5 separate regions of the Homo sapiens genome follow, and all the other regions are linked to region 4. The links are contacts of gene promoters, found by promoter capture Hi-C in blood cells and fetal thymus (Javierre and others, 2016). All regions are on one chromosome and are shown on one strand. Each heading gives the region's core, a stretch centred on a gene start or on the middle of the fragment in contact. The rest is flanking DNA. Distances are from core to core; before and after follow the strand shown. Region 1 has its middle 2.1 kb from the start of PYDC5. Region 2 overlaps PYHIN1 (pyrin and HIN domain family member 1). Region 3 has its middle 18 kb from the start of PYDC5. Region 4 holds the start of OR6K2 (olfactory receptor family 6 subfamily K member 2). Region 5 has its middle 6.6 kb from the start of AIM2.

Region 1 (2,700 bases), core at 201-2,700, 300 kb after region 4:
TCTCTGTTACCTAAGCAATCCCTCCTCTGTTTTGCTCTTTTGTGATTCTTAGGCTGGAATCACGTTTTGGCTCTATCAGCCTAAGGAGCAGTTAGCCACCTGTCACTGAGTTAGGGAACAAAAAGACCAAGGCGATAGGTATTTGCACCATAAACTTCTCCTATCTTGTATGTCCATAATTCTGTATTATTATTATTATTATTATTATGTTTTGAGACGGGGTCTCGCTTTGTCGCCCAGGCTGGAGTGCAGTGGCATGAGCTCGGCTCGCTGCAAGCTCCGCCTCCTGGGTTCACACCATTCTCCTGCCTCAGCCTCCCGAGTAGCTGGGACTATAGGCGCCCGCCACCATGCCCAGCTAATTTTTTGTATTTTTAGTAGAGACGGGGTTTCACTGTGTTAGCCAGGATGGTCTCGATCTCCTGACCTTGTGATCCGCCCGCCTCAGCCTCCCAAAGTGCTGGGATTACAGGCGTGAGCCACCGCGCCCAGCCAATTCTGTATTATTTTGCATTTCTGACACTCATGACTTGATACCTTAAACATTCAAACACATAGAAGCACTTATTTGTGTGAACAGCAGTTTCTTTCCTTGAACCAAAGATTGTCAACCCTTAATCTAAAACATAAAAGGAAATAAAATTCAAACACCACTTCTCCATTACTTGTAAATTTTATTTCTCTCTTCTTAATATATTAATACCCAAATTCCAGCCAAAATATTAAGGATGGATGTGGTGGCTTATGCCTGTAATCCCAGCACTTTGGGAGGCTGAGGTAGGTAGATTGTTTGAGCTCTGGAGTTTGAGATCAGCCTGGGCAACATGGCAAGACCTTATCTCCAAAAGAAAAAAAAAAGGTTAAGAAATCTAAATTTCAGTTAATTTTGCCCTTATTGCTAAGTAAATCTGAGTAAATTATAGATGTTAGTAATTTGGGGTAAGAATTCCCAAAACCAGCCGGGCATCGTGACTCACGCCTCTAATCCCAGCACTTTGGGAGGCCGAGGTGGGTGGGTCACTTGAGATCAGGAGTTTGAGACCAGCCTGGCCAGCATGGTGAAACCTTGTCTTTACTGAAAATACAGAAATTAGCCAGGCTTGATGGTGCATGCGTGTAATTCTGGCTACTTAGGAGGCTGAAGCAGGAGAATCACTTGAACCTGGGAGGCAGAGGTTGCAATGAGCCGAGATCGTGCCATCACAACAGAGCAAGACTCCGTCTCAAAAGAAAAAAAATTCCCAAAACCAGATGTTTAGGGTGGAGAGTTCATTACTGACAACAGTAGAGAATCTCATCTTCAATTTTAGAGATAAATTATATCAAGGGAAATTTTGACAGCCAAAGTGAAGTCCTGAAATTAAACAGAGTAAAGAAATTATCAATCTAGTAAAGATCCTCAAAGAATGCTTTCTGGAGAACAGTTTTAGATAAAATAAGCAAATAAAGAATGAAGATAGCAGAGATAAAGCCGGAGAAGTAGAAACTATCAATGTTTTTACCCCCTTCAAAAATAATGTTGAAACTTAGTACCCAATGCAACAGTGTTGGGAGCTTGGGCCAAATGGGAGGTATTTAGATCATGAGAATTTCACTCACGTAAATAGACTGATTAATGCCACTCTAACGGGCATGTAGGGGGTGAATTCGCCCCGTTTGTCATGTGAGGACACAGCAAGAAGGCCTCACCAGATACTGATGCTTGACCTTGGACTTCCACCTCAAGTACTGTGAGAAATACATTTCTGTTCTGTATAAATTACCCAGTCTATAGTATTCCATTACAGCAGCACTAAATGGACTAAGACAGTGGGAAAGTATGCATGTCCATTACAGGGAGGGTCAGAGAACAGGAGTTTTCATGAACCAGAAACTTCTTTCACTCATATTTTCTCCATGAGACATGCAATAAACAGATGAATGATGCCAACTCTGGCCTTGTACAGTATATCATGACTGGTTCACATCACTCCCCAGGTTTCCATATGCATTCACTCTCCTCTCCTGCCTCAACACTGAGTCTCTTTTATTCCACTCCAAAGTAAAGAGGTCATCCCTAGAACTACAGAAGCTCTTTCTGCCAACAGAGTTGTCTGGAGTTTATGGCATTAGCTTTGAGCAACAGGAAAAGTAGAATACAAAACTGCAATACAGAAACTACAAAATTTCAAGGAAGGACTGGCTGAGAGAAGCCTTGAGGTTGGAGGGGAAGGAATGGCATTGTTGTGAAAACGTGTTCTGGGAACTGAGCTTAAATTGAATTGTAGGAGGCTGCAGTCCCACTGGAAAATGCATACTGGCACCAAGATGACTGCTGCTTCCAGGAACATCCTCCCACTCCTTAGCAATGTGGAACAGATTGAAGGAAGCTCAAACAATCCATTTAAGCAGGAAGTAAATAGATTAAGAGAGCAACCAGATGGCCTAAGGCACTATCGGTATAGCTATCCCCACCCCTCAGCGCCCCCATCAGCTTTTCCTTCCTTGTTTCTTCTCACTGTCTGAAAGACTACTCAGGCGTGCACTGCGAGGTGGAGATCTGACTTCTCTTGTTCCCGCTTAAGACTGCCTCCTGTGTAAGTTTCTGCTATCTAGATCTTTGACTACCAACCAGCCAGGAGTGGTCTGCCTCTTCTTTGGTCTGAGCTTGCCTTGTGCTTATATTGTTGTACCCAAGCGAGTTAAGAAAATACCCCACAC
Region 2 (2,700 bases), core at 153-2,652, 270 kb after region 4:
TCACTGGGAAGGTCACCTACAAAAGGAACCCTATCAGACTACAGCAGAACTTTCAACAGGAGCCTGACAAGCCAGAAGAGCTTGGGACCTATATTCAGCATTCTTAAAGAAAATAATTTCCAAGCAAGAATTTCACATACAGCCAAACAAAGCATCAAAAATGAAAAAGAAATGAGATCCTTTTCAGACAAGCAAATGCTGAGGGAATTTGTTACCACCAGACCTGCCTTATAAGAGATACTGAAAGGAACACTAAGTATGAAAAGGAAAGAACATTACCAGACACTACAGAAACACAATTAAGTACACAGAATAGTGACACTATGAAGCAACCACAGAAACAAGTCTGCATAATAATCAGCTAACAACACAATGACAGGATCAAATCTGCAGATGTCAATATTAACCTTTAATGTAAACAGGCTACACACTCCACTTAAAAGTCACAGAGTGGCAGGCTGGATAAAGAAGCAAGACCCAATGGTATACTGTCCTCAAGAGACCTGTCTCACATGCAATGACACCCATTGGCTCAAAATAAAAGGACAAAGAAAAATCTACCAAACAAATAGAAAGCAGAAAAAAAAAACAGAGGGTGCCATCATAATTTCAGAAAAAACAGACTTTAAACCAACAAAGAGTTAAAAAGACAAAGAAGGGCATTTCATAATGGTAAAGGCTTTCATTCAACAAGAAGACCTAACTACCTTGAATATATACACACACAACACAGGAGCACCTAGACTCATAAAACAAGTTCTCAGAGACCCACAAAGAGACTTAGAGTCACATACAATAATAGTGGGAGACTTCAATACCACACTGGCAGTATTAGATCGATCATTCAGGCAAACAAAAAAAAATAGCAAAGATATTCAGGAACTGCACTCAATACTTGACAAGATGGACCTAATGGACATTTATGGAACTCTCAACCTAAAACAATGGAACACACATTCTTCTTACTGCCACATAGCACACACTCTGAAGTCGACCACACGATCAGATATAAAACAATCCTCAGCAAATTCAAGAAAACAGAATCATACCAACCACCTTCTCAGAACACAGTGCATAAAAGTATAAATCTATAGTAAGAAAATGGCTCCAACCATACAATTACATGGAAATTAAACAGCCTTCTCCTGAATGACTTTTGGGTGAATAATAAAGGCAGAAATAAAGAAATTCTTTGAAACTAATGAGAACAAAGATAAAATACATCAGAATCTCTGGGACATTGCTAAGTCAGTCTTAAGAGAGAGGTTTGTAGCACTAAGCGCTCACATCAAAAAATTTAAAAGATCTCAAATTAACAACCCAACATCACAACTAGAAGAACTAGAAAAGCAAGAACAATCAATCCCCAAGCCAGCAGGAGAAAAGAAATAACCAATATCAGAGCTAAACTAAAAGAAATTGAGATGTGAAAAAAACAGACAAAGATCAACGAATCCAGGAGTTCATCTGTTGAAAAAATTAATAAGAAAGATTGCTAGATAGACTAAAAAAAGAGACAAGATCTAAATAAACACAATTAGAAATGACCAAGGGAAATTACCACTGACCCCACAGAAATACAACAATCCTTCAGAGACTACTATAATCACCTCTATGCACACAAGCTATAAAACCTAGAAGAAATGGATAAATTCCTAGACACATACAACCTCTGAAGACTAACCCAGGAGGAAACTGAATAACTGAATAGACCAATAACAAGTTCTGAAATTGAATCAGTAAGAAAAAGTCTACCAACTAAAAGTAGCCCATGACCAGATGGATTCACAGCCAAATGCTATCAGATGCATAAAGATGAGCTGGTACCATTCCTACTAAAACTATTCAAAAAACTGGGGAGGAGGGACTCCTCTCCAATTCATTCTATGAGGCCAGCATCATCCTGATAACAAAAGGCAGAGACACAACAAAAAAAGAAAACTTCAGGTGGTTATTCTTGATGAACATACATGCAAAAATCCTCAAAAAAATACAAGTAAACAAAATCTAGCAGTACTTCAAAAAGCTAGTCCAACACAATCAAGTAGGCTTTATCTCTGGAATACAAAGTTACATATACAAAACAATAAATGTGGTTCATCACATAAACAGAACCAAAAAGCTACATAATCATCTCAATCGATGCAGAAACAGCTTTCAATAAAATGCAACATCCCTTCATGTTAAAAACCCTAAATACTCTAGACATTGAATGAACATACTTCAAAATAATAAGAACCATTTCCAACAAACCCACAGCCAACATCATACTTTATGGACAAAAGCTAGAAGCACTCCCCTTGAAAACTGGAACAAGACAAGGATGGCCTCCCTCACCATTCCTATTCAATAGAGTACTAGAAATCCCGGCCAGAGGAATCAGGCAAGATAAAGAAATAAAAGGCATCCAAGTAGGAAAAGAGAAAGTCAAACTATCACTTTTTGCAGATGACAAAATCCTGTATTTAGAAAAACCCATAGTCTCTGCAGAAAAGCTCTTTGATCTCATAAACAACTTCAGCAAAGTTTCAGGATACAAAATCAATATACAAAAATCAGTACACATTCCTATAAACCAACAACATCCAAGCTGAGAGTCAAAACAGGAATGCAATTCCGTTCACAATTGCCACAAAAATTGACAAAAGGATTTATTGTATTCATCAAGGTTGGAAATCACCATACTACATTTTTTTCTAG
Region 3 (2,700 bases), core at 144-2,643, 280 kb after region 4:
TTTTCTGGGTATAGAATCATATTACCTGCAAAAGGAGGTAGTTTGACTTCCTTTCTTTCTATTTGGACGTCTTTTATTTTTTTTTCTCTTGCCTGACTGCTCTGGCTAGAACTTCCAGTGCTATGTTGAACCAGGAGTAGTGAGAGTAGGCAACTTTGTCTTGTTCTGGTTCTCAAGAGGTATGATTTCAGCTTTTGCCTATTTGTGATATGATGTTGGCTGTGGTTTTGTCATAGATGTCTCATTTTGAGGTATGTTCCTTTGATACCTAGTTTGTTGAGGGTTTTTAACATGAAAGAATGTTGAATTTATTGAAACCTTTTCTGCATCTATTTAGATAATCACGTGATTTTTGTTTTTAGTTCTGTTTATGTGATAAATCACATTTACCAATTTGCGTATGTTGAACCAACTTTGCATTCCAGGGGTAAAGCTTACTTGATCATGGTGGCTTAGCTTTTGCTGTGCTGCTGGATTTAGTTTGCTAGTATTTTTTTTTGAGGACTTTTGCATCAATATTTATCAGGCATATTGTCCTGAATTTGTTTTTCCTTTGTGTTTCTGTCAGGTTTTGGTATCAGAATAATGCTGACCTCATAGAATGATTCAGGGCAGAGTCTCCGCTCCTCAATATTTTGGAATAATTTTGGTAGGATTGGTATCAGCTCCTCCTTATCTATCAGGTAGAATTCAGATGTGAATCTGTCTGATCCATGGCTTTTGTTGGTTTGTAGGTATTTTATTATGGATTCAATTTCAGAACTTGTTATTGATCTGTTTAGGTATTCAATGTCTTCCTGGTTCAATCTTGGCAGGTTGTATGTTTTCAGGAATTTATCTGTTTCTTCTAGATTTTCTAGTTTTTCAGCATAGAAATTGTTCATAATGGTCTTTGAGAGTTTTTGTATTTCTGTGGGTTCCATGGTAATGTCCCCTTTGTCATTTCTAATTGTATTTATTTGGATCTTCTCCTGTTTTTTTTTTTTTTTTTGTATATTAATCTGGCTAGTGGTCTATATATCTTATTCTTTCAAAAAACCAATTTTTAGTTTTCTTAATTATTTTTGTGAATTTTCACATCTCAATTTTATTTGGTTCAACTTAGATTTTGATTATTATTTTTCTTCTGCTAGTTTGGGGGTTGGTTTCCTTTTGTTTTTTCTAGTTCCTGTAAATGTGATGTTAGGTATAAATTTAAGATATTTCTGACTTTTTGATGTAGGCCTTTAGTGCTATAAACTTTTCTCTTAACACTGCTTTAGCTGTGTCCCAGAGACTCTGATATATTGTATTTTTGTTTTCATTAGTTTCAAAGATTTCTTGATTTCTGCATTAATTTAATTTATTACCCAAAAGTCATTCAGGAGTAAGTTGTTTAATTTCCAAATACTTCTATGATTTTCAGAGATCTTCTTGGTATTGATTTGTATTTTTGTTGCACTGTGATCTGAGAGTGTGGTTGATATAATTTCTGTTTTTTGAATTTCCTGAGCATTGCTTTATGGCCAAGCATGTGGCCAAGCATGTGGCACAGAGTATGTGCCATGTGCAGATGAGAAGAATGTATATTCTGTTGTTGAGTGGAATGTTCCTTATATGTCTGTTAGGTCAATTTAGTCAAGTGTGAAATTTTGTTCCTGAATATCTTTGTTAGTTTTCTCCCTCAATGATTTATCTAACAATGTTAGTAGGGTGTTGTATTCTCCCACTATTATTGTGAGGTTAGCTAGTTCTCTTCATAGGTCTCTAAGAACTTGTTTTATGAATCTGGTTGTGCCAGTGCTGAATGCACACATCTTTAGGATAGTTAAGTCTTGTTTGTAGAATTGAACTTTTTATCATTATGTGATGCCCTTCTTCATCCTCTTTGATAGCTTTTGGTTTAAGGTCTGTTTTTTTTTTCCTGAAATAAAAGAGCAACCCCTGCTCTATTTTGTTTGTTTTCCATTTGCTTTATAGATATTCCTCCATCCATTTAATTTAAGCCTGTGTCTTTACATGTAAGGTGGGTCTCTTGAAGACAGCATGTAATTGAGTCTTGCTTCTTTATCCAACTTACCATTCTGTGCCTTTTAAGTGGAGTGGTTAGCCTGCTTATGTTCAAGGTTAATATTGATATGTAAGGATTTGATCCTGTCATAGTGTTATTAGCTGGTTGTTATGTAGACTTGATTGTATAGTTGCATATTGTGTCAGTGGAATATTTACTTAAGTGTGTTGTTTTGTGGCAGGTAGCAGCCTTTTGTTTCCATGTTCAGCACTCCCTGAAGGACCTCTTATAAGGCAGGCCTAATGGTAACAAATTCGCTTAGTGTTTGTTTGTCTGAAAAGGATTATGTTTCTTTTTCACTTACAAAGCTTGGTTCGGCTGGATATGAAATCATGGTTAGAATTTCTTTTGTTTAAGAATGCTGAATGTAGGCCTTTAATCTTTTCTGGCTTGAAAAATTTCTGCTGAAAGGTCCACTGTTAGTGTGATAAGGGTTCCCTTTGTACATGATCTGCCTCTTCTCTTTTGCTGCCTTTCATATGTTTTATTTACCTTGATCTTGGAGAATTGGATAACTATGTGTCTTAGGGATTGTCATCTTGTGTAATATCTTGCTGGGGTACTCTGAATTTCCTGAATTTACATGTCAACCTCTCTAGCAAGGTCAGGTAAATTTTCAGGGACAATATCTTCAAATATGTTCTCCAAGT
Region 4 (2,700 bases), core at 8-2,507:
AAATGTTTATGCAGAACATTTCAACAAAATGAATTTACTTTGAATAACTTGAGTGGCAGAAACTGTAATTAATAAAGTCAGATTGAAAAATATGTCTAATTGAGTAATGATTAAATAGAAGTTATTGACGTTAGCTATTGCTGAATTTGTTTCCTTTTGTTTGGTTTGGTTTGGTTTGGTTTGGTGAGCTTTGGGAGACCAGTTTGAATAGAAGGTTGATAGGAAAAGACAGATTGCTGAGAGCTGAAGGTGAAGAGGAACCAGCAACTATACAGAATCTCAACTAAAATATCTTACTTGAGGTCCCTGGTCTTACGGAAAAAAATATCTTAGCTTGACCTATGTGCTTTTTTATAGCTTCTTTTATTTCTTTATTCCTCAGGCTATAGATAATGGGGTTGAAGAAGGGAGACAAAACTGCAAAGGCCAGAGCAATGGCTATATCCCAGAACAAAGAGTAGGTGGCAGAGAAGCGTAGGTACATGAGAGTCACACTGCCAAAGAAGAGCGAAAAGACAATGAAGTGAGAGACACACGTGGAAAATGCTGTGCGGCGGCCTCCAGCTGAATGAATACGTAGAATTACAGCCACAATACCATCGTAGGACATGAAGATGAGCATCACAGCTGTAATAATCTCCACTGCATGAATGACATCCACTACCTGAATCATGACGATGGCTCGTGTGTCTGTGCAGGCCAGACGCAGCACTGGGAGGAAGTCACAGAAGATATGTTCAAGGTGATTCGAACCACAAAATGGCAGTGTAGAGATCCAGGCAATCTCAGGAAGGGGTGTGATAAAGCCACAAACACAGCAACTTAAAGTCAGTTGGGTACATAGCTTGGGGGTCATGATAGAGGGATAATGAAGAGGGCTGCATATGGCCAGGTAGTGGTCAAAGGCCATAACTGTCAAGAGACACACCTCACAGATGCCGGTGGAATGGAAGAAATACATCTGCAGGAGACAACCATTGAAGGAAATGCTCCTCTCACTAAGCAGGCTAGACAGCATCTTTGGGATTGTGGCTGTGGTATACCAAATCTCCAGGAAAGAAAGAGCACTGATAAAAGTATACATGGGAGTGTGGAGGTGAGTATTCAACTGGACCACTGTGATGATGACCAGGTTTCCAACAACAATGAAAGCATAGATGAAGAGCAGTGGAACAAAGCAGACAACAGACTTAACCCAGGAATAAGGGAAAGCGGAGAAGATAAACTCCTGAATGGTGGTTCGATTGGGGCTCTCCATCTCCAAGTTGAAAGTGAGAGTTTCAATTTCCAGTGCACTCAAGCCTTCTAGGAGGCATCTACTATTGGATAAAGGAATACACTTACAAGAAGCCAGCGTCTGAATAGAGCCCTGTAATGGGGATAGAGAGGAAGACAAGGAAGAAGGACATGGTCCATATTCTATAGTTGCTTACGACTTAAGTTGTAGTGTGGAAAAAATCCAGTCAGAAAGCACAGTCAATATTTTGGATGTGAGATTCTCAGATATATTAACATGCATCAGAATCACCTGGAGGGCTTGTTAAAACTCATATTGCTGGTCCTCATACTGAGAGTTCGGTCCTAATCTGTAGTTCTGAGGTAGGACCCAAGAATTTTCATTTCTAACAAATTTTCAGGCAATGGTGGTCCTGCTGGTCAGGGGACTATATTTTAAAACAACTTTGTTTAGGCGAATATAGAATTAGACAGAGCATTGAAGGAATAATCAATAATTAAGAGGACGTTCTTTTCGATATTTAAATCTTATTGATTCCCTAATAATCTCCCCACATTGTTCCATATATTTTTTCTTCAAGCTCCCAGTTTATTGGATTCTTGGCATATGATTTGATTGGCATATTTTTATAATAAAGACAAAACCATTACTGGTGAATTCTTTCAACCCTCTTTCTCTAATAACTCTTCCTCTCTTCATATGTATATTCTTAACCATAATTCAGAGAATATTTGGAGAAGAAAAGCCATATAAATAATCATAAGTTATTTTACCTTGTTTTATAAGATAGTCTATTCTATCTCCTTCCTTTCCTTCTCTTCTACGTCTTCTTGGTAAGGAGATCTTAAAGGGGTTTTGTACCAGAAGCCTTTGGTCAAATGTAGTAACTTATGAAAACTAACTATATTAATAAATAAATGCTTAATATAGTTGTACACTTGCTCTGGTACAATTGAATGGTGGTAGTTAGAAGGAAGGGCAGAGCTGCAGTGCCCTGTAGAATACAATTTAAACTACACACATTATAGGAAATTGTCCTATTAATTTATTCTCTTTTCAGAATGTTTTGTTTTACTTTATTTGTCTCTTCTGCAATCAAACATGCACATTTCTTCTTATCTTGGGAGAAAATACTGTTTCTATTCAGGTTATTTCCCTCCTTTGTAACAACTGCATTATTTTTCCAATGTGTAAAAGGTATTTATTCTATTCATTCTTCTTTGAATCTCTGAATAATGTATCCACCCTCAACTTCCCATATCTCTTTTCTTAAGGTATACTAGCGACTTTCTCATTGAAATTTAATGGCCTCCCTCTGTCTTCATTGCCACTAACTTCCAAAGGTCAATTGCCCAATGTTTGAAATTCCTTTTTTTGCCTATTTGACACCACACTATCCTGGTTTTCCTCACTGATTATTCAATTTTTTATATCCCAAGTGTAAACATAACCGCAAATTCTGT
Region 5 (2,700 bases), core at 40-2,539, 380 kb after region 4:
CTCTTATTCTTCTAGTTTCCTAATGTGGGAGCTTAGATGATTGATTTTTAGGTCTTTCTTTTTTTCTAGCCACATGCTTTTAAAATTACAAAACACCAAGGAGAGAGAAGATCCTAAAAGCTTCCTGAGAAAGAATAGATCATATCTGAGGATTAGGAATAAGAATAGAATTGGCATTCTTGACAACAACACTAGAAGCTAGAAGAGAGTGGAGCAATTCCTTTAACATTTGAGGAAAACAATTTTCAGCCTCGTCTTCTATACCTAGCTGATAATTATAATAATCACATGTACATGTAAGGAAGGAACAAAATTATTCAGGAATCTCCATGTCTCAGTTTGTTTGGGCCTCTATAACAAAAATACTATAGACTAAGTGACTTATAAACAACAATTTATATACACATTTATTTCTCACAATTCTGGAGGCTGGGAAGTCCAAGATCAAGGTACCAGCATATTCAGTACCTGGTGAAGACTTGCTTCCTGGTTCAAAGACAGCCATCTTTTTTCTTTTCTTTCTCTCTTTCTTTTTTTTAAAGGCAAGGTCTTGCCATGTTGCCAAAGCTGGACCCTAAGTCCTGGACAGCAGGTGTGCACCACCACACCTAGCAAGATGATGGCTTTTTGCTGTGTCCTCACATGGCAGAAGAGATGAAAGTGCTCCCTGGGCACTATCCCACGTAGTATAAGAGCACTAATCCTATTCACGAAGCCCATACCCTCAAGATCTAATCGCCTCCCCAAAGCCCCACCTCCTAATATCATCACATTAGGGGTTAGGATTTTAACATATGAATTTTGGGGGTAACACAAACATTCAGTCCACAAGGATGATGTCACCCCAGGATAATGGTGACCAGAAGCCCTTGAACCTTGACTTGTACACAGCTAGACTGAAACTTGTTCAAAACAGGGGGACGGAAAGCTCAAAAAAGAATATTTCCTAAGGAAAAAGTGTGTGAGATATATGTGTAAGTTTTGCAGGTAGTGGGTGGTTGCAGAGAAATTACCTGAATTTATTTTGAGAGAAATTTTACTGTTTTGGATCTTTTAAAAGAATTAGCAATAAGCACGTCAAGATGGAACAAATTATTAAAGATATGTCACTGACTTCAGAAAAAAATAAAGATGCATAAAGAAGGAATCTAAACATACTACATGGCTTAACTATTAGTTTTATTTAGATAGTTATGGTAATGTAAAACACCAAACAGTGATTTAATCAACAATTGTGAAATGACCATATTGGGAAAGTGGAAAGAGAGATGATGTACATGTATTTGTAAGATGTAGGGTTCCAACAATGTAAGAAAAGAGGTGTAAGAAAAGTAAATTTGTATCTTCTATTGCAGCAAATCAATAGATAATGGAGTGGCTAAAATTGAAAACTAGGAATGTAGCAATATTATGAAAGGTTAAAAAATGTTGCCTTGAGTGAGTGGGAATTGGGAGTGGTAAGGTATGAGGCAGGGGACTACTCTTTATTATCATCCTTGTAATATTATTGAATTTCAATCAATAGTAATATATTAACTGAATGAAAATAAATTTAAAACATAAATAGCTCTACTAAATGCTCATTGAAGTATCTTCCTATTCTAAGGATTTATATTCTATACCATTTAGCTCTACTAAATTTTAGCTCTACTAAATACTCACCCAAGTATCTTCCTATTCTAAGGATCTATATTCTATACTATCCTAAGGATCTACATTCTACACCATTAATCCAAATATGACCTATGATAAAATATAATAATATTTCAGAAATAGAATTCTTTACTTCCAGCTAAGTGAATTTGGAAAGGTCCAATTAGAGAAAAACAATAGCACTTGGACTAGTCCTATTGGAAGGAATAAGAGTTTTAACATGTGGAAATACAAAAAGTGGAATTCTAGGCCAATGGAATTGAATAGTCAATATTTATGGACCACCTATATATAACCAATTATTGATGCATTCTCTAGAGTCCCTAATTGCCTCTGGCACACAGAGCTAACCTTTACCACTCAGCCAGTAAGCCAATAAGTGAGAGATCTTTTTCACAGGCTATCTCATGTAACCCTACCACTCTATGTGGTAAATATATTAATTGAAACCCATAAGTGAGGGAACAGAGTTTAAAGAAGTTAAGTCATTTGCTCAAGGGTACCCTGCTAGTATGTGGTAGAGTCAGAATTTAAATCTGGTTATTTTCTAAAATTCCAATTCTCTTTCCATCACTCTGCCCTGCTTTTTGGCATATTTGTACATAATTTATATATTCTATATAATGTGATCAAATGAAAAAACCCTGGAGAGGCAGGGCCTTCCCTCCTCCAAGCCCACTTATTTCTGGTTCTCGCTCACCACATCCTTCCCTTCTCCTTTCACACAGCTCAAAACACAGCTAGACTTCCTACTGGAGAGAAAGCAACAATCTTGAACTGTTCAAGATTCCTACTGCAAACAACATAAGCTTCCCTTGATAGTTTAAGGAGACAGAAACTTTATTAAAAATATTAAACCCAGGCCAGGCACGGTGGCTCATGCCTGTAATTCTAGCACTTTGGGAGGCCAAGGCGGGGGAATCGCTTGAAGCCAGGAGTTCAAGTCCAGCCTGAGCAAAAAACGGCGACCTTATCTCTCCAAAGAATTTTAAAAATTAGCAGGGCTTGGTGACACATGCCTGTAGTCCCAATTACTTGGGAGGTTGA

Evidence for each region. Contacts are between HindIII fragments. The CHiCAGO score rates a contact against its expected background, and 5 or more counts as called.
Region 1: a contact is called between a fragment that was not itself captured here and the fragment with the promoter of OR6K2 in region 4, in 1 of 17 cell types (erythroblasts). The highest score is 5.3, in erythroblasts.
Region 2: a contact is called between a fragment that was not itself captured here and the fragment with the promoter of OR6K2 in region 4, in 1 of 17 cell types (megakaryocytes). The highest score is 6.3, in megakaryocytes.
Region 3: a contact is called between a fragment that was not itself captured here and the fragment with the promoter of OR6K2 in region 4, in 3 of 17 cell types (megakaryocytes, erythroblasts and M2 macrophages). The highest score is 8.2, in megakaryocytes.
Region 5: a contact is called between a fragment that was not itself captured here and the fragment with the promoter of OR6K2 in region 4, in 1 of 17 cell types (megakaryocytes). The highest score is 5.1, in megakaryocytes.

Annotation. Positions count from the first base shown.
Region 1 is chr1:159,003,466-159,006,165 of GRCh38, forward strand. It overlaps a transcript of IFI16 not described here. Among named protein-coding and RNA genes, the nearest start is that of PYDC5, 2.1 kb to the left of the region's middle. RefSeq lists enhancers at 1,922-2,447, 2,448-2,700. The HindIII fragment of the contact is 4,916 bases long and covers 1-2,700 here.
Region 2 is chr1:158,964,488-158,967,187 of GRCh38, forward strand. The region is part of intron 7 of PYHIN1 (pyrin and HIN domain family member 1); the gene reads left to right. Among named protein-coding and RNA genes, the nearest start is that of PYHIN1, 34 kb to the left of the region's middle. The HindIII fragment of the contact is 2,926 bases long and covers 1-2,700 here.
Region 3 is chr1:158,983,055-158,985,754 of GRCh38, forward strand. It overlaps a transcript of PYHIN1 not described here. Among named protein-coding and RNA genes, the nearest start is that of PYDC5, 18 kb to the right of the region's middle. The HindIII fragment of the contact is 1,925 bases long and covers 432-2,356 here.
Region 4 is chr1:158,699,395-158,702,094 of GRCh38, forward strand. It overlaps OR6K2 (olfactory receptor family 6 subfamily K member 2), which reads right to left and starts at 1,258. Exons shown (of 1, transcript NM_001005279.3): 1 at 284-1,258. The coding sequence starts at 1,258. The coding sequence ends at 284. The HindIII fragment of the contact is 9,102 bases long and covers 1-2,700 here.
Region 5 is chr1:159,081,976-159,084,675 of GRCh38, forward strand. It overlaps a transcript of AIM2 not described here. Among named protein-coding and RNA genes, the nearest start is that of AIM2, 6.6 kb to the left of the region's middle. The HindIII fragment of the contact is 2,342 bases long and covers 119-2,460 here.